7 separate regions of the Homo sapiens genome follow, and all the other regions are linked to region 3. Evidence: promoter capture Hi-C in 16 types of primary human blood cells and fetal thymus (Javierre and others, 2016). All regions are on one chromosome and are shown on one strand. Each heading gives the region's core, a stretch centred on a gene start or on the middle of the fragment in contact. The rest is flanking DNA. Distances are from core to core; before and after follow the strand shown.

Region 1 (3,862 bases), core at 1,309-3,808, 670 kb after region 3:
GAAAATTGAGAAAATGACTAAAAGGGGAGAATAGTTAAGGTTAATTAAATATGGCCTGAGAAGGACTCCGTACTTCTATATTTGAGTCCTTGTGGATGAACTGTAACCTAACTTAATAGGTAGACAAGATTGAGAACCGAACATAAGAATATGCGCCTGTAACAATAGCTGAGACCTGGCCAATCCCAGCAGCCATTCTTCAACCATTCATGCACTGCTGAGTGTTCAAACGGTGTTCAAATAAGGCAAACACCAACCTGTAACCAATCCAGCTGTTCTGTACCTCACTGCTGATTTTTGTATGTCATTTCCCTTTTTTTGACTATAATTTTTTTCTGACCACAAGGAAACCCTGGAGTCTCTCTGAGCCTGCTGTGATTCTGGGGACTGCCCAATTTGTGAATGGTTCATTTCTCAAATAAACTCTTTTAATTGGCTGAAGTTTTTCTTTTAACAGTTGTATAATTTACGCAATTTCCAAATTCGCACTACTATAAATAAGTGTACAATGAATATTCTGTTTTCTTTTTTCTTTCTCTTTCTCGTTCCCTTTTTTTTTTTTGAGACAAGTTCTCACTCTGTCACCCAGGCTAGAGTGCAGTGGTGTGATCTCAGCTCACTGCAGCCTCGACTTTCTGGGCTCAAGTGATTTTCCCACCTCAGCCCCCAAGTGGTTAGGACTACAGGCTTGCACCACCATACCTGGCTAACTTTTGTATTTTTTGTAGAGACTGGGTTTTGCCATGTTGTCCAGGCTGGTCTCAAACTCCTGAGCTCAAACAATCTGCCTGCCTTGGCCTCCCAAACATATATTCTTGTTGACTTATTCACTTCTAATCTTACAACAAATTCCTACATATAAAGTGATCATATGACATTTTGAGGGCTTTTGATGAACACTGCTGAGTTGCCTTTCCCAAGGACTTTCCTACCTGTGGGGGATAAGGGGTGGGGGTGAGGCAGGGGAGGCTCCTAAAATCTTGCCAGGCAATGGCTACAGCTTCTGAGCCTCCCCTGGAGAGGATCATTCTGTAAGGGCCTCTCAGGGGTGGATCTGTCTGAGGCACTTGGAGAGGATCATTCTGTAAGGGCCTCTCAGGGGTGGATCTGTCTGAGGCACTTGGAGAGGAAATCAACAGCCCCATGTCAAGTTCATTGCTTCACATCTTTCCTCTTGGGGCTTTCCTTTCTTCCTCACCCGGGCTGAGCTTTCTGGGTCTGGGTCTGCAGGAGGGGGTTGGTGGGGTGGGAATGACCCACTTCTTCCCATCTCAGGGAGGTCTGACCTCCCTGGGCAGCACAGGAAGAAGGCAAGCCTGCCTGGAACCCCCAATAATTAGGAACCACTGCCATCTAGTGTCGGCATTGCTGTGAAGATTTAAATATTAAAACCCACTCCAAGCCCTGAAGAGCACCGCCTTCCCCATGGGCACCCCTCAGGGACCCTACAGGCTACAGCAGTGCAGGCCTGAGCTAGAAAATGCTCATTAGGAGAATTAAACATCTGGGGAAGGAATATGAAAATCTAATTTAGAATGGCTTGGGACTGCCAGAGAGGAAGTGGGGAGTCCAGAGAGAAGACTGAAGAGAAATTTTCTTGAAAGATAGATCCCATTAATTAGAGGGTGGCAGCAAATCTAGCGTTAAGGAAGAAACAAATATCTGGGGAAAACACTTCTTGGGATGCCTAGGAGGTGTACGGAATCTCCCATGAGCCTCAAGACGGACCCGAGGCTTGCAGAGTTAAAAGAGCCCTCCCAGCTCACTCAGGCCACTTGGGAAGAGCCATTGGTGCTGCTGTCCCCAGGACTCTGCTCTGAGACCTGCCCTGCATTCCAGCCTGGGCCCTGCTCTGAGACGCAGCCTGGGTTCTTCTCTGAGATCTGCCCCATGTTCCAGCCTGAGCCCTGCTCCAAGATCTGCCCCGTATTCTAGCCTGGGCCCTGCTCTGAGACCCACCCTGTGTTCCAGCCTGGGCCCAGATCCGAGATCCAGCCTGGGTTCTTCTCTGAGACCTGCCCTGCGTTCCAGCCTGGGTCCTGCTCTGAGACCTGCCCTGTATTCCAGCCTGGGTTCTTCTTGGAGACCTGCTCTGTGTTCCAGCCTGGGCCCTGCTCTGAGACCTGCCCTGTATCCCAGGCAGTGTTCTTCTCTGAGACCCGCCCTGTGTTCTCTACTGGGTTCTGTCTCTCTGACTCAAAATGGCGGTGGTAGTGCAGTTTCTTGGGCGGCGGGGGAAGAGGTTAGAGCTGTTCAGCCCTCGGGCTGCTGACACCACTGTGGGCTACAGGGGCAGCTTTACTCCGGGGATTCAAACCCCATTTCAGCCACCTTTTTATTTGTTGTGGAAACTTAGGTAATTTCTTAAACCTCTCAAAGACTCAGTGTAATAGGGTGAATAGTGACTCTCAAAATCCATCTCCACCCAGGACCTCAGAATGTGACAAATTTCTGTATTTGGAAATAAGGTCTTTGCAGATATAATTAGTTGAGTTCATCCTGGATTTGGGTGGGTCTTCAAATGTGATTTATAAGATGACAGAAAGAGACGCAGAGACACACAGAGGGGAAGCCCGTGTGCAGGAGGGGCTGGAGCGATGCGTCCACAAGCCGAGGAGCCGAGGGATTGCTGGGAGCCACCGGAATCTCAGAAGAGGCAAGGGAGGATTCTTCCTGGGAACCTTGAGAGGGGGCATGGCCCTGCTGATGCCTTGATTTGGAGCTCTTGGTCTCCAGAACCCTGACAGAATACATGTCTGCTGTTTTAAGCCATGGGTTTATGGTAGTTTGTTAGAGCAGCGGTGGAAACAAATACACCTAGTTTCCTGAGAAGCAGAATGGGGATAGCACCACCTCGGAGGTGCTGGCGATGAAGCCACGCATTATTTCATGAATGACTGGGAAGTCACCTCCCATCGCTGGGCCACAACGGCTAGATGGTGGAAGGCCCTCACTTTCTGCCAGGTGCATGGTAACCACTTAACAAACGTTAGCAGTCATCACTTGGGCTGGTTCTTTGCTTTTGAGGGTCTGCATGGAGACAGCCTGGTCCTGGGGACTTCCTCCCCTTCCATCTTGGGTAGCATCCCTGTAGCCCTTCCACTCCTCACCCGGTTAGCAAATCCCTCAGGCCAACACCTCTCTGGCACCGGGGCACCTTGATGGCCCTTTCGTCCATTCCTCAGTGCACTGCTGCCCTGGGGAACGTGGCCTCCTTTCAGCTCCTCAACCACCCCTGAGGTCCCAGGGCACCCCCTCCCTGGGGCTCCTCCAAATGCTGCCTTCCCATCTCTCCTGAAGGGCTGGTGGACATTCTACCTGCATTATAGACTCTGGCTGGCTAGAGGGGACCCTGGGAGCAGTGCCCCATCAGTATTTCAGTGAGTAGCTGACACCCACCACGTGGCCAGGACCCGGCCACAGAGGGACTGGAGCAGCCCTGGAGGTTAGGCTGCGTTCCATTCCCACTGAGCCCTGTCGTCCACATCTGAAATGAATCCCAGTGTCTCAGCCACAGCCAACCCCCTCACAGACACCCACACTGTCCCCTCAGAGTGGAAGTCAACTCCAATACCTGCTTCCAGACAGTCTCAGCCTCTGCCCCCAGCTCCCATCTCTGTCACCAGGTGAACACCTTGCCCACACAGTGTCATCTGTTTCCTGCAGGCAGAGCAATACCAGACATAGGATAGATGTCTTGGAGTCCAGAGTCTTCTCCGTGGGTTTCTGAGGCTGCCACGGAAACAGGCATTGGGAGCTGAGTGAGTCAGGGTATAACATGTTTACGCAGCACCTCCCATGTGCCAGGCATAGTGCTATGTTATGGGATTTTAAAAATAAGTGAGAATCTACTCTGTTGCTT
Region 2 (3,589 bases), core at 174-2,673, 550 kb after region 3:
CTGCCTGCCTTGGCCCCCCAAAGTGCCGAGATTGCAGCCTCTGCCCGGCCGCCACCCCGTCTGGGAAGTGAGGAGCGTCTCTGCCTGGCCGCCCATCGTCTGGGATGTGAGGAGCCTCTCTGCCTGGCTGCCCAGTCTGGAAAGTGAGGAGCATCTCTGCCCAGCCGCCATCCCATCTAGGAAGTGAGGAGCGTCTCTGCCAGGCCGCCCATCGTCTGAGATGTGGGGAGCGCCTCTGCCCTGCCGCCCCGTCTGGGATGTGAGGAGCGTCTCTGCCCGGCCGCCCCGTCTGAGAAGTGAGGAGACCCTCCGCCCGGCAACCGCCCCGTCTGAGAAGTGAGGAGCGTCTCCGCCCGGCAGCCACCCCGTCTGGGAGGGAGGTGGGGGTCAGCCCCCCGCCCGGCCAGCCGCCCCGTCCGGAAGGGAGGTGGGGGGGTTAGCCCCCCGCCCAGCCAGCCGCCCCATCCGGGAGGGAGGTGGGGGGGTCATCCCCCGCCTGGCCAGCCGCCCCGTCCGGGAAGGATGTGGGGGGGTCAGCCCCCCGCCCGGCAAGCCGCCCCATCCGGGAGGTGGGGGGCGCCTCTGCCCGGCCGCCCCTACTGGGAGGAGAGGAGCCCCTCTGCCCGGCCAGCCGCCCCGTCCGGGAGGGAGGTGGTGGGGTCAGCCCCCCGCCCGGCCAGCCGCCCCGTCCGGGAGGTGAGGGGCGCCTCTGCCTGGCCGCCCCTACTGGGAAGTAAGGAGCCCCTCTGCCCGGCCAGCCGCCCCGTCCGGGGAGGGAGGCGGGGAGGTCAGCCCCCCGCCCGGCCAGCCGCCCCGTCCGGGAGGGAGGCGGGGGGGTCAGCCCCCCGCCCGGCCAGCCGCCCCGTCCGGGAGGTGAGGGGCGCCTCTGCCTGGCCGCCCCTACTGGGAAGTGAGGAGCCCCTCTGCCCGGCCAGCCGCCCCGTCCGGGAGGTGAGGGGCGCCTCTGCCCGGCCGCCCCTACTGGGAAGTGAGGAGCCCCTCTGCCCGGCCACCACCCCGTCTGGGAGGTGTACTCAACAGCTCATTGAGAACGGGCCATGATGACAATGGCGGTTTTGTGGAATAGAAAGGGGGGAAAGGTGGGGAAAAGATTGAGAAATCGGATGGTTGCCATGTCTGTGTAGAAAGAGGTAGACATGGGAGACTTTTCATTTTGTTCTGTACTAAGAAAAATTCTTCTGCCTTGGGATCCTGTTGATCTGTGACCTTACCCCCAACCCTGTGCTCTCTGAAACATGTGCTGTGTCCACTCAGGGTTAAATGGATTAAGGGTGGTGCAAGATGTGCTTTGTTAAACAAGATGCTTGAAGGCAGCATGCTCGTTAAGAGTCATCACCACTCCCTAATCTCAAGTACCCAGGGACACAAACACTGCAGAGGGCCGCAGGGTCCTCTGCCTAGGAAAACCAGAGACCTTTGTTCACTTATCTGCTGACCTTCCCTCCACTACTGTCCTGTGACCCTGCCAAATCCCCCTCTGCGAGAAACACCCAAGAATGATCAAAAAAAAAAAAAAAAGAAAATTGGAAAAAAAAAAAAAAAAAAAAAAAAAAGACTCCATACCAAATGTACTCAGGAACTCACTGGACTCTTAGAAATCCACTGCCTGTGGTTTATGTGGCAGAGTTACGCATCAGCGATTCAAAGTAGGGTATTTCAATCCAGACTGCTTTGTTTATATGCAGGATTCATTTCCCATTTCATGTTTGATCAAATATACTGTAGTGTGTAAGAGTATTCTTACCTACCTGCATTAACATATAGTAAATTCCAGCCATGCCATGGGCTGCTCCAACGTACTGCTTCCGGTGCCACTGGTACAACAGCGGGCAGCGCTCCGTTTTTCTTTCTTCCCTTGACAAAGTCTTACCCGATTCAATAATAGCATTGACTACCTACAGAGATAACAAGACAGCATAAATCTAAAACTGTATATGTACCCTGTTGTAGTCTAATTAACAGTATGTCATATATATATGACATATATAGAGAGAGAGGCAGAAGCCTTAATCTAAAAGTCTTTAAGCAGTTAGCAGCTAATATAGTTATATTTATTTTATAAATTAATAAATGCAGGCAAAAAGAAATCAGGAGCCAATGTCAGAGTAGGAAAAGATACTGTCTAAGAAATAAAAAATTCTTTGCATAAAAAGTCAACGAAAAATCTAGAAAAACTTCTTATAAAACTGTTTTGGATTTCTTAGTTGCTTCGTAGCTGCAGTATTTTTCCCAAAAGAGCAGCACATACACCTATCAGGAAAGGCTGGAGGAACTGGCTTTATTTATAAAAGGCTAATGATATGAGGTCTGCTGTGGCATGAAGGATTTCAGTTAGATCAACAGAATATCATGTCTGGGATGACTGTTTCCTCACGTCTATCTCCTCTCATCCTTTTTGGGAAAGTATTCCAAGTTTTAGCTGGGCATCTGGCTCCCTAGTTAGAGACAGCTGAACACAGACACTTGATGAAGTTCTGGCACTGGGATGGGAGCAGAAGTAAAGAGGGCAACTTGGAGACTGAGTCCCTAACAAGGAAGCTGCGTTGCCTCCACCTCCTCTTTTCCCTTCATAGGCTGAGGGGCTAAACTAGCCTTGGTCCTGCAAATAAGGGTATGCCCCTAGGATAAGGCAGAATGAGACAGAAGAAGCTGGTCCCCACTCATACCAGCCTGAAATGCTTACCAGCTGAGACATCTCACGAAAGATAAATAAACATTCTAACTTTCTGAAGCTGCTGCTGTTTAGCTCCAGTAAAAACTGATAAATTAATACAAGATGAAAGAGAGTACAGATTTTTTTTGTTAATGTTCCTAGAAAAAAGCAGGGACTATTTCTTACTTTTGATGAGTTGCTTTAAAAAAGTAATGCTACCTAGAAGTAAAGTCCAGCTGTTAATACAACTCAATGCTAGCAAATAGGTTTGAATGGTAGAGACGCCCATAGTTACCCATACCCCATAGTACCTCTTTAATAGCTGACTCACACACGGTGCCTGGACCTATCTCTGTGTTCAGGTACAGTAAGGCATACAGATAACCTGCCCGTCCATAAAGCAGCTCATCAGGAAGGTCTGATTCTTGGCAGACAACCGATCTCTGGAGCTGCAAAAGTCTAACCAATAAGAAAAATTAATTTTTTCCCAGTGGAAGTCTAAAGTACTTCTTCCTGAAACACTAACCCTGTTGCTTTAGGAATTACCTATTATTTATTTTACATTTAAAACAATTATTTTTAAAAATACTCCCAAATCCAGAACACAACAAAAACGTCTCCAGTTTACTAGTCCCCTTTTGAATGTCAAAATTAAAAACAAAACATCTTTCTGTTAATTTCTACCTTTACATCTATTTTAAACCATAAAATTTTATTTTGAAATCCAGAAGTAAAAGAAAGTGATTTAAAATTTAAATAAAAATGGTACTGCAGGCCGGGCACGGTGGCTCACGCCTATAATCCCAGCACTTTGGGAGGCCGAGGTAGGTGGATCACCTGAGGTCAGGAGTTCAAGACCAGCCTGACCAACATGGTGAAACCCCGTCTCTACTAAAAATGCAAAACTAGCTGGGT
Region 3 (3,708 bases), core at 416-2,915:
CCAGTACTTTGCATACAGAATGACTACAGCAGTTAGAGTGGATTGACATTAACTGTTTTCTTGGAATGTGTAAACCGTGTTATACCTACAGACCAGCAAAATGCCTGGCTCAAAGCAGATGAGAGACAAGACATCTTTACTGAGAGATAAATGTTTTTTTGCTTAGGACCCAGGACATGGTGGTGATTTACCAAAGCCACCCGGAAACAAGAATGTTTCTCACCTTTAATAAATAGGGATCCAGAACAAGCCTGGTCACTCTCACTTTAGCAGTCTTTTGCATTTTTGTCCCAATCACCTTCCCCACAATCCATCTGGCATGGACGGATGAGCGAACTACGGACATTACGTGGCTTTGGTCACCTGAAAAGCAAATTCCAAAGTCTCATATTCTGGTGGTTATGATGCCACATGAATTTTGTCACAAGAACTGTCCAGGTTAGTCCAGAAACAGTTTTTTTCTTTTTCGTTCCCCCCTCCACCCAGAAACAGTTTTGTTTTGTTTTTTTTTAGATGTAGTCTCTCTCTGTCGCCCAGGCTGGAGTGCGGTGGTGCGATCTTGGCTCACTGCAAACGCCGCCTCCTGGGTTCACGCCATTCTCCTGCCTCAGCCTCCCGAGCAGCTGGGACTACAGGCGCCCGCCACAACGCCCGGCTAATTTTTTTGTATTTTTAGTAGAGATGGAGTTTCACCGTGTTAGCCAGGATGGTCTTGATCTCCTGACCTCGTGATCCGCCCGCCTCGGCCTCCCAGAGTGCTAGGATTACAGGCGTGAGCCACCGCGCCCGGCCATATGTATTTTTCTTTAGATGAAGTTTAGTTCTTTCGCCCAGTCTGGAGTGAAGTGGCGCGATCTCGGCTCACTGCAACCTCCGCCTCCCGGGTTCAAGCGATTCTTCTCCCTCAGCCTCCCGAGTAGCCGGGACTACAGGCCCGCACCACCACGCCGAGCTAATTTTTGTATTTTTAGTAAAGACAGAGTTTCACCATGTTGGCCAGACTGGTCTCGAACTCCTGACCTCAGGTGATCCGCCCGCCTCAAGCCTCCCAAAGTGCTGGGATTAAGAGGCGTGAGCCACCGCGCCCGGCTTGAATCACCATTTCAGAGATGCTTACACGTTCCCCACTACCCAACCTCTCATCTTTACAGCGCTTACAAAGCGGTAACTTTAACTTCGCCAAGCCTCACGTTCCCCTTCTGCAAAATGGGCAGGCCTATTTCGCAGGAGTGCTTTGAGAATTTGACCCACAGAACGCTCAATACCACGGACAAACGCTGGACGTTACTGGTCCCTTATCTCTCTCCACCCCGCTGGGTCGCCTCTCCCCACAGGCTCAGTGCCCAGGTAGCACTCGGCGGGGCCGCCGCGGTGTCCCCCTCCCCGGCCCAGCGACGGATGACTTGGGCTGCTTTTGAGATCAGTTCACAAGCCATTCCACCAGGCTTCGGAAAGGTTGGGGTGATTCGTGCCCTCGCCCCAGACAACCCCGAGGTCAGACGAAGCGATTCGCTCTCAGGGCTCTCACGCGAGGGTGCCTTGGGTCCCCAGCAAATCCTCCCCCGGCAGCAATACCCCGGAGCCTGCCCTCACCTCCACCACGAGACTCACCTCCGCCAAGACTATGCAGCCACCTGCCCCGGGGAGCGCCGGTCGCAGCGGGATGGCGTCACGCCGTACGCATTGGCTCAGTCCCACACTACCCCTCTCGTAGGCCGTGCATCTCCTTAGCCGTGGGCGGAGTTAAAGGCAGGACCCCGCCCACTCTCCCTTAAAGGGACCCGCGGCGGTGGCGGGGTCGGGGGCGCTGACCTCTGGTTTCCTAACGCGCGCAGCTAGTGGACAGTGGCGCAGGAGGTTTCGGACTTTTCTTTCATTCTTTTGTTTTGTTTCTTTTTTTTTTTTTTTTTTTTGAGACGGAGTCTCGCTCTGTCGCCCAGGCTGGTGTGCAGTGGCGCGATCTCTGCTCACTGCAACCTCTGCCTCCCGGGTTCAAGCGATTCTTCTGCCTCAACCTCCCAAGTAGCTGGGATTACAGGCGTGCACCACCATGCCCAGCTAATTTTTGTATTTTTAGTAGAGACAGGGTTTCACATGTTGGCCAGGCTGGTCTCGAACTCCTGGCCTTAAGTGATCCAACCACTTTGGCCTTTCAAAGTGTTGGAATTACAGGCGTGAGCCACCGTGCCTGGCCTAAAAGTGTTTTTTTTTTTTTTTTTTTTGAGACAGGGTCTCACTCTTGTTGCCCAGGCTGGAGTGCAGTGGCATGATCTTGACTCACTGCAACCTCTGCCTCCTGGGTTTAAGGGATTCTCCTGCCTCAGCCTCCTGAGTAGCTGGGACTACAGGCATCTGGCACCACGTCCAGCTAATTTTTTTTATTTTTAGTAGAGACGGGATTTCACCATGTTGGCCAGGCTGTTCTTGAACTCTTGGCCTCAAGTGATCCACCTATTTCGGACTCCCAAAGTTCTGGGATTACAGGCATGAGCCACTGTGCCTGGCTGGTCCAGATTTACCTATACTTTCCCTGACCAGTTATTGTATCAGAAGTTTTTCAAACGAAAAATATCAGTGGGGAGTGGTACTTAGCAACAAAGCTCTGAGTGCTAGGTGAGCAACTTGCTACTGGGATTTTCCTGCCTGTAGGCTATTTCAGCAGATGTAGCTATCGATACATTGAAACATACACACACGCACACACACACCTACCTTTAAACAGCAGTGGGTTTCTTTCTTTTTTGGGACGGAGGCTGTCTCTGTCGCCCAGGCTGGAGTGCACTGGCGCGATCTCGGCTCACTGCAAGCTCCGCCTCCCGGGTTCACGCCATTCTCCTGCCTCAGCCTTCCGAGTAGCTGGGACTACAGGCGCCTGCCACCAGGCCGGCTAATTTTTTGTATTTTTTTTAGTGGAGACGGGGTTTCACCGTGTAAGCCAGGATGGTCTCGATCTCCTGACCTCGTGATCCGCCCGTCTCGGCTTCCCAAAGTGCTGGGATTACAGGCATGAGCCACCAGTGGGTTTCTTCTTTTGCTTCACCAGTTCCGTATTTTTATCTCCTTTCTTCCACAGTTAGAACTCTGGTCCCTACCCCGACAACATCAATGATTAATGCTAAATCCTATAGTATACACTATATGCTTTTGGAGTTGTACTAACAATATCCCGACTAAAAACAAACTTTCTAAGTGATGCGTGAGATTATTTTTTGTGGTTCTTTTTGTCCTTAGAGTGTACAATGACAGCACTGTGTTCAACATTTCTTGGGATTCTTTTTTTTTCTTCTGTGTGGTTGTAACAATATTCTATACAATTAGATTTTTTTTTTTTTTTCAGACGGAGTCTCGCTCACAATCTCGGCTCACTGCAAGCTCTGCCTCCTGGGTTTACGCCATTCTCCTGCCTCAGCATCCCGGGTGGCTGGGACTACAGGCACCCGCCACCACGCCCGGCTAATTTTTCTTGTATTTTTAGTAGAGATGGAGTTTCACCGCGTTAGCCAGGATGGTCTCCATCTTGTGACCTAATGATCCGCCCGCCTCGGCCTCCCAAAGTGTTGGGATTACAGGCGTGAGCCACCGTGCCTGGCCTTCATTTTTATATGTTTGTATACAATTTTGTATTCGAGGATAGGAAAAACCATATCCTTTTAATCTTATTTTTTGAATGTGTAAATCATTAAAATGGTTCAAAAATTAAAACTTTAA
Region 4 (4,098 bases), core at 972-3,471, 630 kb after region 3:
GTGAGTCAAATAAATGTATTGTTCATCTTCCAATGTGGTATTATTTTATTATTTTGTGGCATAATTTTATTTGTTATTTGTTTTAGATTTATTTGTATTTTTGTCAAATAATGTGAATGATATAATATCAATCCTTTGAATGTTGTTGGAATTTGCTTTCTGGCTTTTATTTCCTTTACATTTAAAGAAACAGACTTAGTTTACATTTTCTCAGATGTTACAAATGTACTTAAAAAGAATGTATTTTTTAGGCAAATCCATAGAAACAGAAAGTATTAATAGATCGGTGATTGCCAGGGGCAGGGTGCGGGTGGGGTGAGAAGGGAACAGAGAATGACTGCTAATGGGTATGGGTTTCTTTTGGGAGTTGCAAAATGTTCTGGAATTGGATAGCACAACTTTCTGAATACATAAAAAACATTTTTAAAAGCATGAATTTTATGGTATGTGAATTATTTTTCAATTAAAAATGTATTTTCTTCAATTATTGATGCAAGCTTGTTAATTATGTTTTTTTCCTCTGTCCCAAGAAACAGGAGAAAATGTTAATTAAGTTTTAAGTATTCTATATCTTTCTAATTTTATGTCTCCTTCATCTATTAAATATGTTTAAATTGATGGTCTTGACAACATTGAAAAAGAAACTGGCTGGGTGCGGTGGCTCACCCCTGTAATCCCAGCACTTTGGGAGGCCGAGGCAGGCGGATCACCTGAGGTCAGAAGTTGGATAGCAGGCTGGCCAACATGGTGAAACCCCATCTCTACTAAAAATACAAAAAAAAAAAAAGAAAAAAAATGCTGAGCATCGTGGCGGATGCCTGTAATCCCAGCTACTCGGGAGGCTGAGGCAGGAGAATTGCTTGAACCCAGGAGGCAGAGGTTGCAGTGAGCCGAGATCGCAAGATGCTGTCTCAAAAAACAAAAACAAACAAACAAAAAACTTAATTACTATTGGAGAATGCTAGTGAATCAACTCGTTTTTTTGAAAAGTGGCACGTTAAAAAGTGGTACATAAATGAAAGAATCAAACCTTTAACTTAACTTCGTTCTGTGTACTACAGCAATGGGCAACCCAGACAGCAAAAGAGAACATTTTCTTTTTGTGGATGTATGTCAGCTAATAGATGAAAAATGAGGCCAGGCACGGTGGCTCACTCCTATGATCCCAACACTTTGGGAGGCTGAGGTAGGTGGGTCACCTGAGGTCAGGAGTTCGAGACCAGCCTGGACAACATGGTAAAACCCTGTCCCTACTAAAAATACAAAAATTAGCTGGGTGTGGTGGCACATGTACCTGTAATCCCAGCTACTTGGGAGGCTGAGGTGGGAGAATCGCCTGAACCTGGGAAGCGGAGTTTGTAGTGAACTGAGATCATGCCACTGCACGCCAGCCTGGGCGACAGAGAAAGAAAAAGGAAAGACTGGATTAGAATGTTACCTTTTCATGACCAGTAATGCCAGTAATGAATTAAGATAGCTAGGCTTTGGATATTAATGGTAGATAACTTCATATATATATATATATATAGAGAGAGAGAGAGAGAGAGAGAGAGAAAGAGAAAGAGAGAGTCCTACATTATATGTTCCTCCTGGAAGTACACAGCAACACCTATGAAGAAGTTTGCAAAAAGGTGGATCAAGTCTTCAATTACCAATTTGCAGAAAATAACAGAAGACAGAGAAATATGTTAAATGACACCTCAGTGATTCAATCAGATAAATCCATACTAAGGTGAACATGACACCATGAAAGACTTGGTTTCTTCAATAAGTAAATGTCAAAGAAAAACAATATGAAGGGGAACCTTATAGATTTAATAGACATATTAACCAATCTGAACATGTGAACCTTATTTGGACCCTAATTCAAACAAATTTAAAAATATTTATGACATTTATAGATAATTGGTCACCTAAATACTGATTGGATATTTGATGCTACTGAGGAAATTAATTCTTTCTAAGGTGTGATATTGGTAACATGACTACATTGTAAAAAAGTGCCCTTATCTTTTTATTTTATTTTATTTTTTAATGCTTTAAAAATTTATTTACTTATTTATTGTAAGTTCAGAGGTACATGTGTAGGATGTGCAAGTTCATACATAGGTAAACATGTGCCATGGTGGTTTGCTGCACAGATCATCCCATCGCCTAGGTATTAAGCCTGGCATCCATTAGCTATTCTTCCTGATGCTCTCCCTCCTCCCACCCCCCACTCTCCAACAGGCTTCAGTGTGTGTTTTTCCCCTCCATGTATCCATGTGTTCTCATCATTCAGCTCCCACTTATAAGTAAGAACATGGGGTATTTGATTTTCTGTTCCTGCATTAGTTGGCTGAGGATAATGGCCTCCAGCTCCAGTCATATCCCTGCAAAGGACATGATCTCATTCCTTTTAATGGCTGCATAGTATTCCATGGTATATATGTACCACATTTTTTTTAATCCAGTCTATCATTGATGGGTATTTGGGTTGATTCCATGTCTTTGCTATTGTGAATAGTGCTGCAATAAACATACATATGTCTTTATAGTAAAATGATTTATATTTCTTTGGGTATATACCCAGTAATGGGATTATTGGGTCAAATGGTATTTCTGTCTCTAGGTCTTTGAGGAATCACCACACTGTCTTCCACATAGGTTGAAATAATTTACATGCCACCAAGAGTGTAAAAGCATCCCTTTTTCTCTACAACCTTGTCAGTATCTGTGTTTTTTTTTTTTTTTTTGGCTTTTTAATAATAGCCATTTTGGCTGGTGTGAGATGGTATCTCGTTGTGGTTTTGATTTTCATTTCTTGAATTATCAGTGATGTTGAGCTTTTTTTTATGTTTGTTGGCCGCATGAATATCTTCTTTTAAGAAGTGTCTGTTCATGTCCTTTGCCCACTTTGTAATGGAGCTGTTTGTTTTTTTCTTATACGTTTGTTTAAGTTCCTTGTAGACTCTGAATATTAGACCTTTGTCAGATGGATAGATTGCAAAAATTTTCTCCCACTCTGTAGGTTGTCTGTTCACTCTGATGATAGTTTCTTTTGCTGTGCAGAAGCTCTTTAGTTTAATTAGATCCCATTTGTCAATTTTTGCTTTCATTTAATTGCATTTGGCATTTTTGTCATGAAATCTTTGCCTGTGCCTATGTCCCAAATGGTATTGCCTAGATTTTCTTCTAGGATTTTTATAGTCTTGGGTTTTGCACGTAAGTCTTTAATCCATCTTGAGTTAATTTTTGTATATAGTGTAAGGAAGGGATCCAGTTTCAATTTTCTGCATATGGCTAGCCAATTCTGCCAGCACCACTTACTGAATAGGGAATCCTTTCCCCATTGCTTGTTTTTGTCAGGTTTGTTGAAGATCAGCTGGTTGTAGGTATGTGGTCTTATTTCTGGGTTCTCTATTCTGTTCCATTGGTCTATGTGTCTGTTCTTGTACCAGTACCATGCTGTTTTGGTTACTGGAGACTTGTAGTGTAGTTTGAAGTCAGGTAGTGTGATGCCTCCAGCTTTGTTCTTTTTGCTTAGGATTGTCTTCACTATTCAGGCTCTTTTTTTTTAGGTCCATATGGATTTTAAAATAGTTTTCTTCTAATTCTGTGAAGAATGTCAATGGTAGTTTAATGGGGATAGCATTGAATCTATAAATTGCTTTGGGCAGTATGGCCATTTTCACCATATTGATTCTTCCTATCCATGAACATGGAATGTTTTTCCATTTGTTTGTGTCCTCTCTGATTTCTTTGAGCAGTGGTTTGTAGTTCTCCTTGAAGAGATCCTTCACTTCCCTTGTTAGCTGTATTCCTAGGTATTTTATTTTTTTTGTCAAAAGTGCCCTTAATCTTTCAGAGTTCATACTAAACCGTTTCTGGATGAAGTGACATAATGGTTGGGATTTGCTTTAAGACAGTATGGAAGAGGGTAGAATGAGTGATGAAATAAGCTTGGCTATGGGTTGCTAATTGTAGTTCAGTGATGGGTGCGTGAGGGCTCACTATACTCTTTTCTCTATTTGTGTTTAAGCTTTTTTTTTTTTTTTTTTTGAGATGGAGTCTCACTCTGTCACCCAGGCTGGAGTGCAGTGGCATGATCTCAACTCA
Region 5 (3,970 bases), core at 1,060-3,559, 530 kb after region 3:
GAGCAAAGTAAATCTAAAGTCCATAGAAAGAAATTTTATTTATTTTTTATTTTTTATGTTTTTTTTGAGACAGGGTCTGACTCTGTCACCTAGGCTAGAGTGCAGTGGCACCACCATGCCCAGATAATTTTGGATTTTTTGTAGAGATGAGGTCTCACTATGTTGCCCAGGTTGGTCTTGAACTTGTGGCCTCAAGCTATCCTCCACCTTGGCCTCCAAAAGTGCTGGAATTATAGAAGTGAGCCACTGGGCCCAGAACCATAGAAGGAAGTTTTAAAAAGAAAAGAAGAAAAATCAATGAAATAGAAAATAGATAAAGCTACAATTTATGTTTATTTCTTTGAAAGAGCAATACAACTTTGACACAGCTGCTATCTAGACTGATGAGAGAGAGAAAACATAAATTACTAATATCAAGAATAAAAGAGAGGCCAGAGTGGTGGCTCACACCTGTAATCCCAGCACTTTGGGAGGCCGAAGCAGGCGGATCACCTGAGGTCAGGAGTTCGAGACCAGCCTGGCCTACATGGTGAAATCCTGTCTCTACTAAAAACACAAAAATTAGTCAGGCGTGGTACCTCGTGTCTGTAATCGCGACTACATGGAAGGCTGCAGCAGGAGAATTGCCTGAACCCGGGAGGCGGAGGTTGCAGTGAGCCAAGATCGTGCCACTGCACTCCAGCCTGGGAGAAACAGCAAGATTCTATCTCCAAAAAAAAAAAAAAAAAAGGAAAAGAACAAAAGAGAAACTATCACTTCAGACCTTACTAAACATTAAAAAAAAGAGGTATGAATAACATTATGCCAATAAATTTGACAACTTAGATAAAATGAGAAAACATATTGAAAAACACAATTAACAAAACTGATGCAAAATGATTCTATTAATGAAATTGAATTCATAATAAAAAATTTTCCCACAAACATTTAAGCAAGTAATAACACCAATTGTACACAAAATCTTTCTGAAAATAAGAGAAAACACTTTCCAACTCATGTACGTGACCAGCATAATCCTGATACCTGATTCCTAATAAAAACAAAGATTTTATAGAAAAAGAAAATATGTACTAAGAAACATAAAAATCTTTAACAAAATATTAGCAGACCAAATGTAGCAATATTAATAAAAAGAAAAGGATAAAAATCATGCCCAAGTGAGGTTTATACTAGGAATGCAAGGTTGACTCAACTTTTAAAAACCAATCAATGTAAAATCACCATATTAATAAAACAAAAGAGGAAAACCATAGGAGCGTTTGAATAAATCCAGGAAAAAAAAATGACAAAATTCAACATCCCTTCATGATAACCAGTAATAAAAGGAAACTTCTTCAATCTGATAAAAGCCATCTAAGAAAAACAGTTAAAAGTATATTTGATGGGGAAATATTTAATATTTTTTTCTATGATTGTGAATAAAGCAAAGATGTCCACTCTGACCACTTCTATTCAATATTATACTATAGCTCCTAACCAATGTAATAAAAGAGGTAAAGGAAATAAAAGGCACAGAGGTTGGAAAGGAAGAAGAAAACTCACAGATACAATATGTGTACACAGAAAATCCTAAGTAATGTATAAAAAGCTACCAGAACTGATACGTGAATTTAGCACAGAATATAAAGTCAATATACAAAAAGCAGCTGTGGCCAGTTACAGTGGCTCAAGCCTGTAATCCCAGCACTTTGGGAGGCCGAGGTGGGTAGAACCCTTGAACTTGGGAGTTTGAGACCAGCCTGGTCAATATGGCGAAACCCCATCTCTACAAAAAAATACAAAAATTAGCCAGGCATGGTGGTGCACACCTGTAATCCCAGCTACTCAGCTAAGTCAGGAGGATATCTTGAGCCTGGGGAGGTAGAGGCTGCAGTGAGCCGTGATCACACCACTGCACTTCAGCCTGGGTAACAGAGTGAGACTCTATGTCTCCAAAAAAAAAAACGCAATTGTATTTCTATATACTGGCAATACATAATTGGAAAATGTAAATAAATAACATATCTAGGAATAAATTTAACAGAAGATGTGTTAAGACCTGTAGAGCAAAAACTATAAAGCACTATTGACAGAAATTAAAGAAAATATAAATGGAGAGATATACCACATTTGCGAGCAGAAGGACTCAACATTATTAAGATGTCAGTTCTGGCCAGGCACAGTGGCTCATGCCTGTAATCCTAGCACTTTGGGAGGCCAAGGCGGGCAGATCACTTGAGCTCAGGAGTTTGAGACCAGCCTGGCGAACATGGTGAAACCCCCGTCTCTACTAAAAATACAAAAACTAGCCGGGTATGGTGGTGGGCACCTGTAATCCCAGCTACTCAGGAGGCTGAGGCAGGAGAATTGCTTGAACCTGGGAGGCGGAGGTTGCAGTGAGCCAAGATCACACCTACTCCAGCCTGGGCGACCAAGCAAGACTCCATCTCAAAAAAAAAGATGTCAGTTAGTTCTACCCAAGTGGATCTAGAGATTCAATGATTCAATGCACTCTGACTCATAACTCCAATAGGCTCCATTTTTAGAAGCTGACAAATGGACTCTAAAACTTATATGAAAATACAAAGGACTTGGAATATTCAAAGTGATTCTGAAAAAGAACAAAGTGAGGTCTTAAGTTACCTGATCTCAAAACTTACAATAAATGCAGAATAAGAAAAACAACGTGGTAATATCATGTAGGTAAACAGGCCAAAGTAACTGAATAGAGTCCAGAAACAGACCCAGGCTTATTAGGTCATTTGATTTTTGATAGAGGAACCAAAATCAATCAAATGGGAAAAATAAATGTCTTTTCCACAAAAGGTATGGGAACAATCAGATATCCCTATGGTTAAAAAAAAACACCTCAGGCTGGGCACGGTGGCTCACGCCTGTAATCCCAGCACTTTGGGAGGCCGAGGCGGGCAGATCATGAGGTTAGGAGATAGAGACCATCCCGGCTAACACGGTGAAACCCCATCTCTACTAAAAATACAAAAAATTAGCCAGGCGTGGTGACGGGCGCCTGTAGTCCCAGCTACTCGGGAGGCTGAAGCAGGACAATGGTGTGAACCTGGGAGGCGGAGCTTGTAGTGAGCAGAGATCGTGCCACTGCACTCCAGCCTGGGCGACAGAGTGAGACTCTGTCTCCAAAAAAAAAAAAAAAAAAAAAAAAAAACCACCTCGTTTGTTACCTCATGTAATATACAAAACTTAATTTGAGATAAATCACAGGCCTAAAGGTAAAATCTAAAACAATAAAGATTAAAGGAGAGTATTATCTATATAACCTGAGGGTAGATAAGGTTTCTTAGACAAAACACAGACAGTAATTATCATAAAAAGAAAACATTGAAAAATAGATTTTATCAAAATTTAAAACTCTATTAGTCAAAAGATACCATAAAGAATATGATTAGGCAAACTACAGACAGGGAGAAATTATTTGTACGATATATATCTGACAGAGGGACTTTAACCAGAACATATAAAGAATTCTTTCAAAAATAGCAAAAAGACAAAAATAAAATAAAATAAAACAATGTAGGTAAAACACACGAAGAGACAGGCTGGGCACAGTGGCTCACACCTATAATTCCAGCACTTTGGGAGACCAAGACAGGAAGATTGCTTGAGTCCACGAGTTCGAAACCAGCCTGGGCAAAAAACAAGACCCCTACAAAAATAAAAAGATTTAGCCAGGTGTGGTGGCACGTGCCTGTAGTCCCCAGCTACTTGGAAGGTTGAAGTGGGAGGATCACCTGAGCCCTGAAGGTCGAGGCTACAGTGAGCCAAGATCCACCACTGCACTCCAGCCTGGGTGACAGTGCAAGACCCTGTCTCAAAAAATAATAATAATAAGAAGAAGATATGAAGAGACAGTCAACAAAGGAAGATACACAATTGGCCCATGAGCACATGCAACATTAATCAACCCTGGTCAATCAGGAAGATACAAATAAAACCACAATGAAATACCCACCAAAAT
Region 6 (4,019 bases), core at 983-3,482, 610 kb after region 3:
TCCGGGAGCTGGCAGAGCTGAGGTGCCAGGCCAAGCAGCTGGAGAGCGGCCTGGAGTTGGCCATCACCTAGATGCCGCTGGGGACAGGGCGGCTGTGCCGCTGGGGCTGGCTCACGGCCATGGGGACCAACTCCGTGGCGTCGCACCACCTGCGCCTCTGCCCTGACCCCTGGACTCCTATACAGAAGATAGAAATTATTTAGGTTGATAGGGTGCAAGAGTCCCCGGCAAAAACTTTCCTTTTAACAAAAAGCAGCTCAGAAATTACTTTCTTTGGCTGGGCGCAGTGGCTCACGCCTGTAATCCCAGCACTTTGGGATGCCGAGGCGGGCGGATCACGAGGTGAGGAGATCAAGACCATCCTGGCTAACACGATGAAACCCCGTCTCTACTAAAATTAAAAAAAACTTAGCGGGGCGTGGTGGCGGGCGCCTGTAGTCCCAGTTACTCGGGAGGCTGAGGCAGGAGAATGGCGTGAACCCGGGAGGCGGAGCTTGCAGTGAGCCAAGATTGCGCCACTGCACTCCAGCCTGGGCGACAGAGCCAGACTCCGTCTCAAAAAAAAAAAAAAAAAAAAAAAAAAAGAAATTACTTTCTTTTTAACCACACACAGTTTAAAGAAATTACTTTTTTTCTAACAAAGAGCAGTCTGGAAGATTGGGCTATAAAACATAAATAAGCACTTCGACAACAGAGGGGGAGCTTCCTGAATAATCACCAAACTCCACATAAATACAATGAGTCCCAGTAAAAACAGTGGACCTTAATGAGCATATTCCTTTCCCTATTTTGGGCACACTAAGATAGGGAAGCAGAAAGCTTGCATGGATAAAGGCTAGCAGCTTGCCAATAGACTTGGGGGCTGGGTGTGTTCAACATGGAGGCTCCATTCCCCCCCCCCCCGCCTTTTTTTTGTTTGTTACCACAAAAACTAGGCAACGGCCAGGCGCCGTGGCTCATGCCTGTAATCCCAGCACTTTGGGAGGTCGAGGCAGGTGGATCACCTGAGGTTGGGAGTTTAAGACCAGCCTGACCAACATGGAGAAAGCCCGTCTCTACTAAAAATACAAAATTAGCCGGGCGTGGTGGCACTTGCCTGTAATCCCAGCTACTCAGGAGGCTGAGGCAGGAGAATTGCTTGAACCCGGGAGGCGGAGGTTGCGATGAGCCTAGATCGTGCCATTGCACTTCATCGTGGGCAACAAGAGCGAAACTGTGTCTCAAAAAAACAAAACAAAAACCAGGCAACATGGCACCAGCCATGTTAAAAAACCTATGTGCATAATAAAATATTGGGGTGGGGCAGCCAACTTCTTCACGGACTATGCAAATGGCACACCTGGTTCAACCAATCTTTCATGCCCTATGTAAATTAAACACGCCTTCTCAAGCTCATCTATAAAATCTGCATTTCACCATGGAAGTGGCAACACATTTCTCCAGGACCTCTCTCTCTGCAGCAGGGAGAGCTTTTTTTCTTTGGCCTGTTAAACTTTCACTCTAAATCTCAGTCATAGGGTCTTTACAGCTGCGATTGAGCCAAAGATCCTGAGAGAAGGAGACGACCAGAGGGGCCCTGAATGCCCTAAATGCAATCACGTGTCCTTATAAGAGGGAGCCGGAAGGAGATTTAATACAGAAGAGGAGGTGGCAATGTGGCCAAGGAAGCAGAGGTTGAGTGGCCACAAGACAAGGGCTGCTGGCAGCTCCCAGAAGCTCCTGGAGGTGAGGACTCTCTCTTAAAGCCTCTGGACAACTGTGGCCCTGCTGGGACCCTGGTTAGGGCCCAGTGATACTGACTAAGCATTTCTGGCCTCCAGAACTGTGAGAAAATAAATCTCCATTGTTTTAAGCAGCTAAGGTTGTAGTAATATGTTATAGCAGATAATAGAAAGCATACACCATGCAATGGTGTGTAAATAATAAATAGGCCAGGCATGGTGGCTCACGGCTGTATCCCCAGCCCTTCGGGAGGCAGAGGTGGGTGGATCAGCAGGTCAGGAGATTGAGACCATCCTGGCTAACATGGTGAAACCCCATCTCTACTAAAAATACAAAAAATTAGCCAGGTGTGGTGGTGCACGCCTGTAGTCCCAGCTACTTGGGAGGCTGAGGCAGGAGAATCGCTTGAACCCGGGAGGCAGAGGTTGCAGTGATCTGAGATCGTACCACTGCACTGCAGCCTGGGTGACAGAGCGAGACTCCATCTCAAAAAAAAAAAAAATTAAAATTAAAAAATAAAAATAAAAAACAACTAAAAATAAATGAAGTACTCTACACACAGCACAGATGAATCTGAAAACAGTCACATTGAATGAAAGAAGGGAGAGTCAAAAGAGAACCTACCATATGATTCCAGTCATGCAAGGTTCGAAGTAGTCCAAACTCATCTTTGTTATTAGAAGTCAGGATAGTGGTCACCTTCTAGAGAGGAGCAGTGACTGGGAGGGGCATGAGGGGTGTCTGGGGCTTTGGTAACATTCAGTCATTTATGTGCAGGGCTGTGCTCACTTTGTGATGGTTCGTTGGACTGTGATCTTACCATTTATGCACTTTCTGTATGTGTTTCCCTTCAACAAAAATTTATTTAAAAAGAAAAGCCTGAAGGAAATCTGCTGCAGTCATATTTGATGCAATCGCTGTAGTAGGAACAGGGCTACCATCTGTTCCTTTATTACCCTCTGCCCTCCCCTTCTGGGCCTACTCTTGCTTGGATTGTTTCAGTTTGGTGCTGGTTGGTGGCTTCTCTGTTATGCTGTGTATATGTAGATGGCGTATGTGTTTTGGTGGGAGGGACAGTGTTCAGCTTCCCCCTGACCTACCCTTTATCACAGAGAATCCCCTCAGAAAGGGGCTGCTGTGTCTCCCTTTAGGCACACAGCAATCCACATCTACAACATCTCTTCAGTGTGGGGCTTGCCCTGTCTGGCCCTGTGCCTTCCTCCAGCATCTGCTCTTCACACTGCGGTGGCTTATGCCCTCAGAGCTTCCAAGACCTGGGACAGATGAAGAAGCAAATCCCTCCTGCTCTTGGGCACACCCCACAGCGGGCCCTTCTCATCATGCTGGCCTGGGTTCCTCTAGTGAACTTCCCGCTTGCAGAAAGGATCATCCAGGTAGAGAGAGGCCAGTCCTTCTTCCAGGCACCTACAGTCTCCATAAATGATTCCTCTAGCTGCCCTCTCCTCTCTTGGCTTTGAGTTAGTGGGTGAGAGAAGCACCTCTTTCTTTTTCATAGAAGGAGAAAAGAGAAGTCTCTTACTACCAAACTGGGCAAAACCACAGGATAACTCAGTGACCCCCCACCCCCACCCTTCCTCATTCTACTCCTTCTGGTGATGCAGGTGGAGGGGTGTGGTTGAGCCTCTTTCTTCAATCCAAGGCTTTGGGGCTGCTATCTTTCTCTAATTGTAGTGGGGGTACTGAGTGTCTTTCCGTCCACGGCTTTGGACTTTGTCACTAACTCTGGGACACATGGAAAAGCCCCGCTCAATGATTTGTCATCCCAAGGTGCCTACACCAATCTCTGCAGACAGAAGAATACTCTAGAGATGGACCCAAACAAAGCATGCAGACAAGCATCCCTGGTCTGAAGTATGCAAGGATGCCTGGCAGGTTGGCTCTAACTGTATTTTCTAAGCTTGTATACTTTTTTTTTTTTTTTTTTTTTGAGTCGGAGTCTCTCTCTTTTGCCCAGGCTGGAGTGCAGTGGTGCGATCTAGGCTCACTGCAACCTCCACCTCCTGGGTTCAAGTGATTCTCCTGCCTCAGCCTCCTGAGTAGCTGGGACTACAGGCGCGCACCACCACGCCCAGCTAATTTTTGTATTTTTAGTAGAGACGGGGTTTTGCCTCATTAGCCAGGCTGGTCTCGAACTCATGACTTAAGATGATCCACCCGCCTTGGCCTCCCAAAGTGCTAAGATTACAGGTGTGAGTCACCGCGCCCGGCCAGTTTGTATAGTTTTGTCTGGTTGGGCCCCACTGATAGTTTTGTAAGTGGAGGAAGAAACTATCTTT
Region 7 (3,633 bases), core at 528-3,027, 690 kb after region 3:
TTGCTGAATTCGAGGAAGCTTTCTCCCTGTCCTATAAAGATAGTAATGGCACTATCACAACAAAGGAACTTGGAACCATCATGAGGTCACTGGGTCAGAACCCAGCAGAATCTGAATTGCAGGACATGATCAATGAAGTGGATTCTGATGGCAATGACACCATTTAATTCCTCGAATTTTTGACCATGATGGCTAGAAAAATGAAAGACACATATAGTGAAGAAGAAATCGTGAGGTATTCCAGTCTTTGACGATAGTGGCAAAGGTTACATCAGTGCAGCAGAACTACGTCATGTCATGACAAACTTAGGAGAAAAACTAATAGATGAAGAAGTAGATGAAATGATGACAGAAGCAGATATTGATGGAGACAGACAAGTTGATTATGAAGAATTAATACAGATGATGACTGCAAAATGAAGACCTACTTCCAACCCCTTTTCCCTGTTCTAGAAGAATCAAATGGAATCTTTTACTTACCTTTTGCAAAAAAAAAAAAAAAAGAAAAAAGAAAAAAGTTTCTAATTTTTTGTTTCTGTTTCTTTCTTTCTTTTTTTTTCTTAAAGACAGAATCTTGCTCTGTCACCCAGGCTGGAGTGCATTGGTGTAATCTTGGCTTACTGCAACCTTTGCTTCCTGAGTTCAAGCAATTCTCATACCTCAGCCTCCCAATTAGCTGGGATTACAGGCGTGAGCCACTACTTTCAGCTAATCTTTGTGTATTTTAGTAGAGACGGGGTTTTGCTATGTTGGTGAGGCTGGTCTCAAACTCCTGGAGTCAAGTGATATGCCCACCTCAGCTTCCTAAAATGCTGGGATTACAGGCGTGAGCCACCATGCCCAACAGATTCATTCTGTTTCTGTATAGCAAAACTGAATGTCAAAAGTACCTTCTATCCAAACACACAAAATCTGCATGTATTTGTTGGTGGTCCTGTCCCCTAAAGACCAAGCTACACATCAGTTTTACAATATAAGTACATGTACTACCTTAATAATAAGGACTCCTCAAAGTTCCATTTAGTCATGATTAATACACTGTTTGGGCCGGCCAGTTTTTCATGCATGCAGCCTGACGACTGAGAGCAGTCAGCCATTTGTATTTAAAAAAAAAAAAAAAAAAAGGAGAAAACAAATCCAAAACCTATTCAAATGGATTCTGGTTCAATTTGTTTAGTATAAATTGTCATAACTGGTTTACTGAAAACGAACATTTAAAATTGGTTTATCTTAGGATGATGTGCAGAAAAATGGGGTGAAGGATAAACTGTTGAGACGTAGCCCCACTAGCGGGATGGTCATCTTGTACTTCTGTGTGCTGTGACCCATGGTGACGATGACATACCCTGGTGGCATGCCCACGTATGTTGATTTAGCGTTGTCTGCATTGTTCTAGAGTGAAACGGCTGTCACTGTTCACACACATTTTTAACAAAAAACCTTTACCAAGGGAGCATCTTTGGACTCTGCTTTTAAAACCTTCTGAACCATGACTTTGAGCCAGCAGAGTAAGCTGTGGCTGTGGGCTTCAGCACAGTCATCAACATTACCGTTCAACAAATTACAGTTTACTTCCATTCCGAGTTGTAAATGCTAGTTTTTTTTCCCCAATAAAAAGATGATTAACTTAAAAAGAAAATTCTAAGGAATCTACAAAATGACCACTAGAGCTAATAAAAAGTTGCAGTCTATATGGTTATTATGCAAAAATCGATGTAAATTTAGTATGCTAACAGTACAGAATTAGAAAAGGAAATTTTAAAAATTATATTTACTGTAAGAACAGAAACATGCAATGTTTTGCAATAAATCAACAAAAATGTGTAAGACCTCTATACTGAAAACTACACAATGGTGGTGAAAATATTGAAGAAAACTTAAGTAAATGGAAATATATACCATGTTTATGGCTTATAAGAGTCACTATTATTAAGATAGCAGTTCTTCCCAAATAGGTGTATACATTCCGTGAAAGCCCAGCAGGACTTTTTGTGGGAATTGACAAAATGATTTTTTAAAATCTATATGGAAATGCAAAGCACCTAGAATCTGCAAAGCCATCTTGAAAAAGGGGAAAAAAAAGTTGGCAGGCTTACATTGCCAGCTTTCAAAACTTATAGAAAGCCGGCCGGGCGCGGTGGCTCACACCTGTAATCCCAGCACTTTGGGAGGCCAAGGAGGGTGGATCACGAGGTCAGGAGATCGAGACCATCCTGGCTAACGTGGTGAAACCCCGTCTCTACTAAAAATACAAAAAATTAGCCAGGCGTGGTGGCGAGCGCCTGTAGTCCCAGCTACTCAGGAGGCTGAGGCAGGAGAATGGTGTGAACCCGGGAGGCAGAGCTTGCAGTGAGTGGAGATCGCGCCACTGCACTCCAGCCTGGGCGACAGAGCGAAACTCTGTCTCAAAAACAAACAAACAAAAAACTTATAGAAAGCCAATAAAGCTGCAGTGATCAAGACAATGTGGCACAGGCATAAGGATCAACAAACAGATAAAAGGCATAGAAAGCCCAGAACTGGGCCTGCTATTACATGACTATACCTAATTTGGGAACAGTGGTTATCCTTGTGATTATGGATATAATTACAGATATGATTATACTCAACTTGGGAACAGTTTTTTTTTTTTTTTTTTTTGCCTATATTAAGTGTTGTCAGGTCAAGGAGGTATGTACTGGTTGAAAAAAGATCCTGATTTGTAGGAAAAGACACAGCACATGGTGATGTTTTAGAGAGTTAAAATTTGGAGCCATTCTCCATATTCATTGGATAGAATCATCATCCCTCCTCTGCCTTTCAGCCTATATAATCAGTAAGAATTATATGGCAGATAAAAATCTGGCATTGAAGGATCAATCAACTATTAGACAATTGATCTCATTTTCTCATGTCGTCTATCTACATCTCTCATGTCATCTGGCATATCATATGTTCTAGGTCAGTCCTGAGTTCAACTAGTCTGTCCTGTGATTTTCACTATTATTTACACTTGTTAGGTCACTATCGTGGGGTTCAGAATATTGGTGTGAGGTGGTGGCATGGGTGCTTTTTTTGGAGCAGTTGTGGGGTGGAATCCCTCCTGCATGACCTGAGGCCACAAGAAACCCCTTCCACCACAGGTGTATCACACGTAATAAACCCTCGTGTGCCTTGTTACATGATAAGCACTTTATATACCTTAGACATTTTAACCTAAATCAACCCTAAAAGGCAAGGTTATTTTTTCTACTAAATTTCCAACAACTAGGTGAACTAAAAGTAGGTTGAAAGACCAATTCTTATGAAAGAATGATTGTCAAAAAGAAAAAGATAAATTCTTCTGAAGAGACGAGAGACATAGGAGCAACTCAGACAGGAAACTTTTAATGGGTTTTAATCCAGGGTTTACAATGTTTTGAATCTGCAATTCTGAAATCCAAAGCAGATCTGGAAATTGAATGTTTTTGGCAACAAATTGGGTGGCAAAATCTGAACTATTTGTAGCTCTGTGTGCTGACGAGCATTGTGAGTGCCCTAGAGGGGCATCAAGCTTTTGCCCACAAAATCCTTTCTTTCCTTGGAGCATCTCAGTGGAGTTGTGTTTTGAGAAATAGTGCCTGACATAAGTTCGGTATTGCTACGTAAGACCTC

The links. Contacts are between HindIII fragments. The CHiCAGO score rates a contact against its expected background, and 5 or more counts as called.
Region 1: a contact is called between a fragment that was not itself captured here and the fragment with the promoter of MRPS17 in region 3, in 4 of 17 cell types (fetal thymus, naive CD8 T cells, M1 macrophages and 1 more). The highest score is 6.2, in fetal thymus.
Region 2: a fragment that was not itself captured here is called in contact with the fragment with the promoter of MRPS17 in region 3 in 1 of 17 cell types (naive CD8 T cells); the score reaches 7.2 in naive CD8 T cells.
Region 4: a fragment that was not itself captured here is called in contact with the fragment with the promoter of MRPS17 in region 3 in 1 of 17 cell types (total CD4 T cells); the score reaches 5.4 in total CD4 T cells.
Region 5: a contact is called between a fragment that was not itself captured here and the fragment with the promoter of MRPS17 in region 3, in 9 of 17 cell types (fetal thymus, naive B cells, naive CD4 T cells and 6 more). The highest score is 8.9, in fetal thymus.
Region 6: a fragment that was not itself captured here is called in contact with the fragment with the promoter of MRPS17 in region 3 in 1 of 17 cell types (naive CD8 T cells); the score reaches 5.8 in naive CD8 T cells.
Region 7: a fragment that was not itself captured here is called in contact with the fragment with the promoter of MRPS17 in region 3 in 1 of 17 cell types (naive CD8 T cells); the score reaches 5.4 in naive CD8 T cells.

Annotation. Positions count from the first base shown.
Region 1 is chr7:55,277,616-55,281,477 of GRCh38, reverse strand. No RefSeq gene overlaps it. Among named protein-coding and RNA genes, the nearest start is that of ELDR, 24 kb to the right of the region's middle. The HindIII fragment of the contact is 8,247 bases long and covers 1-3,862 here.
Region 2 is chr7:55,399,501-55,403,089 of GRCh38, reverse strand. It overlaps LANCL2 (LanC like glutathione S-transferase 2), which reads right to left. Exons shown (of 9, transcript NM_018697.4): 4 at 2,986-3,133; 5 at 1,770-1,916. Among named protein-coding and RNA genes, the nearest start is that of LANCL2, 36 kb to the right of the region's middle. RefSeq lists an enhancer at 1-656. The HindIII fragment of the contact is 5,332 bases long and covers 1-3,589 here.
Region 3 is chr7:55,949,834-55,953,541 of GRCh38, reverse strand. It overlaps MRPS17 (mitochondrial ribosomal protein S17), which reads right to left and starts at 1,665. Exons shown (of 3, transcript NM_015969.3): 1 at 1,612-1,665; 2 at 224-363. The coding sequence starts at 346. RefSeq lists an enhancer at 1,553-1,612. The HindIII fragment of the contact is 16,512 bases long and covers 1-3,708 here.
Region 4 is chr7:55,320,656-55,324,753 of GRCh38, reverse strand. No RefSeq gene overlaps it. Among named protein-coding and RNA genes, the nearest start is that of LANCL2, 43 kb to the left of the region's middle. The HindIII fragment of the contact is 3,444 bases long and covers 500-3,943 here.
Region 5 is chr7:55,416,160-55,420,129 of GRCh38, reverse strand. The region is part of intron 6 of LANCL2 (LanC like glutathione S-transferase 2); the gene reads right to left. Among named protein-coding and RNA genes, the nearest start is that of LANCL2, 53 kb to the right of the region's middle. The HindIII fragment of the contact is 4,751 bases long and covers 1-3,970 here.
Region 6 is chr7:55,338,477-55,342,495 of GRCh38, reverse strand. It overlaps the pseudogene LOC100129276. Among named protein-coding and RNA genes, the nearest start is that of LANCL2, 25 kb to the left of the region's middle. The HindIII fragment of the contact is 2,821 bases long and covers 822-3,642 here.
Region 7 is chr7:55,256,596-55,260,228 of GRCh38, reverse strand. It overlaps the pseudogene CALM1P2. Among named protein-coding and RNA genes, the nearest start is that of ELDR, 2.8 kb to the right of the region's middle. The HindIII fragment of the contact is 3,514 bases long and covers 21-3,534 here.